2 separate regions of the Homo sapiens genome follow, and region 1 is linked to region 2. The links are contacts of gene promoters, found by promoter capture Hi-C in human tissues and cell types (Jung and others, 2019). All regions are on one chromosome and are shown on one strand. The core of a region is centred on a gene start or on the middle of the fragment in contact, and the rest is flanking DNA. Distances in the headings are between cores, read along the strand shown.

Region 1 (4,095 bases), core at 892-3,391, 110 kb after region 2:
ACTGCCTAGTAGCTGGGACTACAGGTGCTCGCCACCGCGCCTGGCTCATTTTTTGTATTTTTAGTAGAGACAGAGTTTCATCATGTTAGCCAGGATGGTCTCGATCTCCTGACCTCGTGATCCGCCTGCCTCGGCCTCCCAAAGTGCTGGGATTACAGACGTGAGCCACCGCGCCCACCTTTTTGTATTTTTAGTAGAGACCGGGCATCACCATATTGGCCCGGTTGGTTTTGAACGAGATCCACCTGCCTGGGCCTCCCAAAGTGTTGGGATTACAGGCATGAGCCACCGCGCCTGGCCCATAATTTTTAACAAAGTCTTAAGGAACAGTAAAGCAAAGGGATCAACCACCTTAACTGTGCTAAAGTTCATCAACTGGGAATCAAGTGCTCCAGTGCTGAATAGACAACCATTGCCTCAAAGAACCCAATGGACAAGAGCAATTTAAACTCTAATTTCATATACAAAACAGGAATGCTTGAGTAGAAAGGCAAGGGAGTGACCACTAAGCCCTGTTATTTAAAAAGAAAAACCAAACAGTAAAACATACACCCACACTTATAAAAGGAAAATCACAGCTAACAAACGCCTATTTCTATCCTGGGGATGACTGTCATTTCCTGGGAGGTCAATTCTCTGAGTAGAGGGCTTGGTCAAATGAGCAATGGAAACAGTTGGAAGTTGTGGGGAGGCACAGGAGGGTTGGCATCTCAAACCCTCATTTCCACCCACAAGGCTGCCTTAGCAGTAACTCCAGATTCTCACTTCCTGATCACGGTCATGCCATGCTGAGAATGGTCTCAGTCAGGCTTCTCAAACTTGAAGAGGGATCCGAACCTTTCTGGGAAGCCTCCTGCATGGCAAATGTTGGCTGCCAAGGCACAAAGCCAAGCGCAGTCATGTAAGCTCAACTGAAAGACCCCGCAAAGTTAGTATAAGGCTTGTGAACTGCCTTGAATAAATATAGGTAACAACTTCTTCAAACAGGCTTTTTTGTGAGTTTCAATCCTGCACAACTCCCAAGACACGGTTCCTCGGCTCCACAACTCTTGATAAATAAAGGTAGCAAAAGGTTTCTATTACCATCTACCCAACAGCATGAGCATTTCGCTTGATGAAAGACAAGCTGCAAACTAACCTGGAAATTCCTGTCCTTTTGCGAAGACAGTGGGAAAACTAAGCCAATTAGAAAGCAGATTGAAAGATTCCTTACCTGACCCTTCCTGGACATCCCTAAAGCAACCCTTAATATGAGCAAAATCCCCTTCGAAAAATCATACTATATACTACGGACGCATCTTCTAAGAGGTGCTGAGTGGGTGCTGCGTGCTGTGGATGGAAAGGATGGAGCGCCAACTCTCTAAATGCAAGTCACCAGGGAAAAAAAGGGCCGCCCATATCAACCCCCACGTCAGCGTTAATTCAAACGTCCAGAATGTGAAACAACGCCAAGGGTTCTGTTTCCAGAGCCAGCAAGTACCCTGGGACAGAGAAGAGAAGGCGTTCACACACCCTGGGCAAAAGAACCTAGTGAGAAAAAGAAAGTAGAATCACAGCAAAGTCCGGGGTCTAGGAAGCCTCCTCCACCAAAGAGCAAAGAGGGCGAGGAAGAGACACCCCCAAGGTGAATCGACTCAGGATCCTCAAAGGCAGTGGACGCCAGGGCGCCATCCTCACCCTCCCCTCCCAGGGTAGGGGATCGGGGCAAGCTGGGGAGGAGCTGGCGACAAGGGAGCGCGGGGCTCGAAGCCCGAGGAGAGTCGCCCGCTCCCGCTGAAGTCTCCTCCGCACGAAGCAGGGCGTGTGCAGGAGCCGCAGGCCGGGAAGGCCAGGACCCTCCGGGCTGGCCCGTGAGGCCCTCACCTTGTCTGAGTCCAGGTCGGGATCGGCCTGGCATAAGCGGTACAGGAAGGATTTCGGGTCCCGGCACAGGGTCTGCCGAGTGGTGAGGAAGTAGGTGCCGCCGACGTTGAGTCGGACCCACTTGGACACGCTGCCAGGGCGCTGGGCCAGGGCGCCGAGCCCAGCGCTGCAGCGGCGGCACAGGCCGCCCCCCAGCCCCGCCCCGATGCCGCCCCGGGCCGGCGACAGGAGCTCGCAGTGATTCTCCGCCATGATCCCAGCAAGCCCCGCAACAGCTCCCTTCCACCGGAAGCGTCCGGCTTTTAATAGCGTCCTCTGAGTTCTGTCCCGCCCACAGGTCCGCCCTGGTAGAGCGCCCGCCCCGGCGTCACGCGGTAGGCGGAAGTTCCGGTCCCGAAAAGCAGGAGGCTGGGCCCGCTTCCGGCGGGAGCGGAGCACGGGGTGATCTGGGCACTAACGCTGATGGGGAGCAGCGGACATCAGCCTCGACCTCCCACGAGCGGTGCACGAGCGCCTGACCCAGACCTCGACCCTAGCCTTCACCCCCACCCTGACTCCAGTTCATGAACTGGTCAAAGGAAGAGCCATGCCAGCAAACGTCTACACTGTACATGCTTTTTATTACAAGACTACGGAGCATAGGAGGAAAATTCATCATCTGGTAACTACACCTAAAGCACAAATATTTGGGGGGAAAAAAAGAACAGATTCATTAAATTATATGATTAAATCATTGACCCAATAGAAAATTTATATAATAAGGGCGGGGCCTGGTGGCTCACGCCTGTAATCCCAGCACTTTGGGAGGCCGAGGCGGGAGGATCAGGCGGTCAGGAGATCGAGACCACGCTGGCCAACATGGTGAGGCCCGGTCTCCACTGAAAATACAAAAATTAGCCTGGCGCGGTGGTGGGCGCCGGTAATCCAAGCTACTCGGGAGGCTGCGGCAGGAGAATGGCGTGAACCCGGGAGGCAGAGGTTGCAGTGAGCTGAGATCTCGCCACTGCACTCCAGCCTGGTGATAGGGCGAGAGTCTGTCTCAAAAAAAAAAAAAGAAAGTTTTTGTAATAAAGCCAGAAAAAAGTTGTAAAATATATAGTAATTATTCACATTCAAGGCTGTATATCAATACATATAACAACGTGGCCCCGAACATGAATTCAATACAAATAATTCATATATTAGAATTTAGGCCGGGCGCGGTGGCTCATGTCTGTAATCCCAACACTTTGGGAGGCCAAGGTGGGTGGATCACGAGGTCAGGAGTTCAACATCAGCCTGGCCAAGATGGTGAATCTCCGTCTCTACCAAAAATACAAAAAATTAGCCAGATGTGGTTGTGGGCGCTCGTAATCCCAGCTACTCGGAGGCTGAGGCAGAGAATTGCTTAAACCCAGGAGGCGGAGGTTGCAGTTAGCCGAGATCAGGCCACTGCACTCTAGCCTGGGCGACAGAGTGAGACTCCGTCTCAAGAAAAAAAAAGAATTTAAATAACAGGCTGAACTAGAGGCCAACAATAGCCAGCAAATAACCTTCTATAAGATTAAAAACACAAAAGTGTATATCCTAATACCATTGTATTATTTGTTTTCATGAGTTCTTTTAATTTTTGCTTTGTCTGTACATCACAGTTACAGCTACAGACCAGGTAGAGAATATTACGCATGTTCTGACTGCCACCCACCTGAAAGACGTACTAGTCATTTATCCTATTTCATGTTGTGAAGGAACAGCTACAGCAGCTCTAAATACTGTAACAATTTAATTTTGCCAACATCCAACTTAACAGTCGTAATAGAGGCTTTTACCAGCACAATGACCCCTATTCGTAGTCATTCTGCCAGACGGTTAGGCTATGTGGGTTACACAGCTTAAAAAAGGTCTGCCTTTTGTAAAAAGTTCTCTGTACATAGTTTGGTGTTTCTTCATATGGAAGAAATGAGTTATGGGGAAAATTCAGGTACACACGTAGGCTCGTTCAGTTGCTCACCACAGCCATCTCAACAGATGAAAGTGCTCTTTGTTGGAAACAGCTTCCTCCTCACACCAGTTCTCCACAGGCAGCCTCATCTACAACCCTGCAATTTTGGGCCAGAAGTGGTGGCCCCTCAGAGGCTCTGAAGTGCCTCCAGCCCCGATTCAGGCACTTGCCACGTGTGCTGCGTAAGAAGGGACCCCACCCAGTGAGTCAACATAGGCTCATGTCAAGTTTGAAAATAACTGGGGAAAAGT
Region 2 (4,159 bases), core at 440-2,939:
CTGAGGCAGGAGAATAGCTTGAACCCGGGAGGTGGAGGTTGCAGTGAGCCGAGATCACGCCACCGCACTCCAGCCTGGAGACAGAGCAAGACTCTGTCTCAGAAAAAAAAAAAGAAAGCCCCTTCGGCTGTGGTTTTTGTTTATGGCAGCCCAAGCGGACTCCTACAGGGACACAGACCCAGACCCTGATGCTGGAGGGGAGACAAGAGGATGTAAATCAAACCTCCTCAAGTCCCTGTCAAAGGACAACTATGGGCTGGCCTCGGTGGCACATGCCTATAACCCCAGCACTTTGGGAGACTACAGCAAGAGGATCTCTTGAGCCCAGGAGTTCGAGAACAAGTTGGGCATCATTGCAAGACCCCATCTCTGGAAAAAAAAATTGCTAGGTGCTGTGGCATGCACCTGTGGTCCCAACTACTTGGGAAGCTGAGGTGGCAGGATCACTTGAGCCCAGAGGTCAAGGACGCAGGGAGTTGTGATTGTACCACTGCACTCCAGCCTGGGTGACAGAGCAAGACCCTGTCTCTCTCTCCCTTTTTATTTTTTTTTGAGACAGAATCTCACTGCGTCGCCCAGGCTGGAGTGCAGTGGCATAATCTCGGCTCACTGCAACTTCCACCTCCCGGGTTCAAGCAATTCCTGTGCCTCAGCCTCCCGAGTAGCTGAGATTGCAGGCGCCCACCATCAGGCCTGGCTAATTTTTGTATTTTTAGTAGAGACGAGGTTTCACCATGTTGGCCAGGCTCGTCTCAAACCCCTGACCTCAAATGAGCCACCCATCTCGGCTTCCCAAAATGCAGGGATTACAGGCATGAGCCACCATGCTTGGCCAAGACCCTGTCTCTTTAAAAAAAAAAAGAAAGAAAAACAAAAAAAAAAAAAAGGAAAAAAGTACAACTATGGCAGGGCTGCAAAGGAGGCAGGAGGAGGTGGCAGAGCAGAAGGCTGAGGGATAAGAGGAGTTCACTATGCAGAGAGGGACTTGAGAGACTTCTAGGCAGCGAACACTGTGTATGAGCCCAAGAGGGAACTACAGGGCCCTGGACCATCCGGGCCCCGGTCCTCCACGGGCCTCGAGAGAAGGGGAGTTCCTGTCCCCTGACCCCAGCATCTTGCTCTGTCTCGGCCACCCCAAACCAAAGACTGCACTGGTCCCCAAGGTCAAGTCTCCCCCTGCCTCTGGTCAAGTAAGGAGTGCCACCAACTTTGAACCAGTCCCTTTCCACCTCCAGCTGCTCCAGACCCCGGATCTGGAAGGGGGCTGGCCATGCTGGGGTCTCTGGGTGGAGCTGTCTGGCCAGGACTTCCGTCTGAGATGGGATTTCTGGACAGAACAATGGAGCGCAGAAGCTCCAGCAACGTGTGCTCTGCAGGGAGCCCAGGTCAGGTTTGGAGAGGAGTTGCCCCGGATCCTGCAGAGCTTCCCCACCTGACTGCCACCCCTCCCAGCACCTACCCGCACCACTGCTCTCCGCCAGCCCCCACTTCTAGTACCTTGGCGCAAGGCAGGCTTCCTTTGAGAAACCCATTGACCCTTTCCTGCCACCTCTGAAGCTCTGCTCAAAGCATCTTTGTTTGAGGCTGGTCCGGTAAAGCCACAGCCCCGCCCCGGCCCTGTTCATTACTCCTTGGCTGAGCCTCGCGCTCTCCTGGCACTTTAAGCCCCCAGGCCCTCCCTCAACCCCAGTCAGCAGAAGGCGCCAGGCTGTGAGGGTGAGAGCAAGCCAGGGGCTGTGGGGGCTGCAGGGGCAGCCAGTGGGTGAGGATGAGGGTGAGGACGAGGAGGGGTGAAGGATGGGGGAGGGGGTGAGGATGAGGGAAGTGGTGAAGATGAGGGAGGGGAGTGAGGAGGAAGGGGGTGAGGATAGAGGAGGGGGTGAGGATGAGGGAGGGGGTGACGATGGGGGGGTGAAGGATGGAGGAGGGGTGATGAGAGAGGAGTGAGGATGAGGGAGGGGGTGAAGGATGAGGGAGGGGGTGAGGATGAGACAGGGGTGAGGATGAGGGAGGGGGTGAGGATGAGGGAGGGGAGTGAGGAGGAGGGGGCTGAGGATGGAGGAGGGGGTGAGGATAGAGGAGGGGTGAGGATGAGGGAGGGGTGAGGATGAGAGAGGGGTGAGGATGAGAGGTGAGGATGAGGGAGGGGGTGAGGATGAGGGAGGGGAGTGAGGAGGAGCAGGGGTGACGATGGAGGACGGGGTGAGGATAGAGGAGGAGGTGAGGATGAGGGAGGGGGTGAGGATGAGAGAGGGATGAGGATGAGGGAAGGGGTGAGGATAAGGGAGGGGAGTGAGGAGGAGGGGGGTGAGGATGGAGGAGGGAGTGAGGATGAGGGAGGGGGTGAGGATGAGGGAGGGGGTGAGGATGGGGGAGGGGGATGAGGGAGGGAGTGAGGATGACCGAGGGGGGTTAGGCTCCAGGGCTTCTGTCGAGACCAAGGATGCCCAAATATCTGGGTGGTGGGTGCTGCATACCTGGGCCCTGGGCAGAACGAAGGGTATACAGCCTGGGCCACCAGGATAAGTCCAGAACCCACCAGGAGCTGAGGACAGACAGAAGGACCACGGAGGGGGTGACGGGCTGGTGTGAGGATTGGTGCCCCTGGGCCAGGACTCTCCTCTCTTCTCCCTGCTGGCTCCAGACCAGAGTCCAAGCCCTAGGCAGTGCCACCCTTACCCAGCCCAGCCTTGAAGACAGAATGAGAGGGGTTTCCTGTCTCCAGGTCCTGCTCCTTCTGGTGCTGGGTGAGTGGGGACAGGGACTGGGGGTGAGGGCCGCAGACACCTTGGCTCCCAGTTCTCCCATCTCACTGCTCCCTGGGCCGGGCTCCCTGGAGCACTCTTGGGCTTTCTAATCTTGATTCCAAGGGCTCAATCCTCTCTGCCACTGACCTTGACCTCACCACACCTCGATGTGCTTGTCGGTGTCATGCTCATACGCCCTTGCCCCCTGCACCTTCACAGTGCTCTGGGGAGGGTTAAATAAGATAACAGACGGCACGAAAGCCTGGCGCAATGTCAGGGCAACATTGTTTCACCCTCCTTCCTCATCTCTGGCCTCCCCTCCAACTCCGTTATTTGACACCAAATCTATAATCTGGTCCCTTCCCTGCTTCCTCCTCCAGGAGCTGCTGGGACTCAGGGAAGGAAGTCTGCAGGTGAGGAAGCCTCGGAGTCCACCCGAGTCAGCCCCTCCTGGACCTCGGCCCCGTGTCTCCCCACCAACACCTGCCTCCCAGGCCCCAGGTCCTCAGCCAACCCTCACCGCCCCTGGTCCTTTTCTAGCCTGCGGGCAGCCCCGCATGTCCAGTCGGATCGTTGGGGGCCGGGATGGCCGGGACGGAGAGTGGCCGTGGCAGGCGAGCATCCAGCATCGTGGGGCACACGTGTGCGGGGGGTCGCTCATCGCCCCCCAGTGGGTGCTGACAGCGGCGCACTGCTTCCCCAGGTCAGCGCTCACCGAGGGCCCAGGCGGGGTGTGCAAGGAAGGCAAGGCCCGCAGAGGACCGGGCGTGGCCTGGCAGAGGCGTTGGGGTCGAGGCGGGCTGGAGGGGGTCGAGGACCCGGTGCTGGAAGTAGTCCCCCGCTCCTGTCCTGCAGGAGGGCACTGCCAGCTGAGTACCGCGTGCGCCTGGGGGCGCTGCGTCTGGGCTCCACCTCGCCCCGCACGCTCTCGGTGCCCGTGCGACGGGTGCTGCTGCCCCCGGACTACTCCGAGGACGGGGCCCGCGGCGACCTGGCACTGCTGCAGCTGCGTCGCCCGGTGCCCCTGAGCGCTCGCGTCCAACCCGTCTGCCTGCCCGTGCCCGGCGCCCGCCCGCCGCCCGGCACACCATGCCGGGTCACCGGCTGGGGCAGCCTCCGCCCAGGAGGTAAGGCAGGAGGGCGGGGCTCCGAGGCATCCGGGAGCCCCCACGTCCTCCTCCATCTGACTGGAAATCCCAGCCCCTCACTGCCCCAATCCAGGACCCAGCGCGGCTTCTAGGGAACAAAACCTCCTCTCACTCAGAGCTCAGCTTCTCCCACTGGCCCCCGCTCCACGCCTTCCTCTCAGAGGTCCCTCCTCTTCCCCCAGTGCCCCTCCCAGAGTGGCGACCGCTACAAGGAGTAAGGGTGCCGCTGCTGGACTCGCGCACCTGCGACGGCCTCTACCACGT

What was found. Contacts are between HindIII fragments. The study calls those that stand out against the background at their distance.
Region 1: the fragment with the promoter of KCTD5 here is called in contact with the fragment with the promoter of PRSS33 in region 2 in 1 of the 25 tissues and cell types used here (adrenal gland).

What each region holds. Positions count from the first base shown.
Region 1 is chr16:2,680,569-2,684,663 of GRCh38, reverse strand. KCTD5 (potassium channel tetramerization domain containing 5) reads right to left here and starts at 2,141. Exons shown (of 6, transcript NM_018992.4): 1 at 1,864-2,141. The coding sequence starts at 2,115. RefSeq lists enhancers at 1,459-1,508, 1,579-1,628, 1,173-1,783 and a silencer at 1,879-2,058. The HindIII fragment of the contact is 14,940 bases long and covers 1-4,095 here.
Region 2 is chr16:2,785,090-2,789,248 of GRCh38, reverse strand. It overlaps PRSS33 (serine protease 33), which reads left to right and starts at 1,689. Exons shown (of 7, transcript NM_152891.3): 1 at 1,689-1,716; 2 at 2,645-2,747; 3 at 3,128-3,160; 4 at 3,288-3,450; 5 at 3,603-3,874; 6 at 4,078-4,159. The coding sequence starts at 2,702. The HindIII fragment of the contact is 27,852 bases long and covers 1-4,159 here.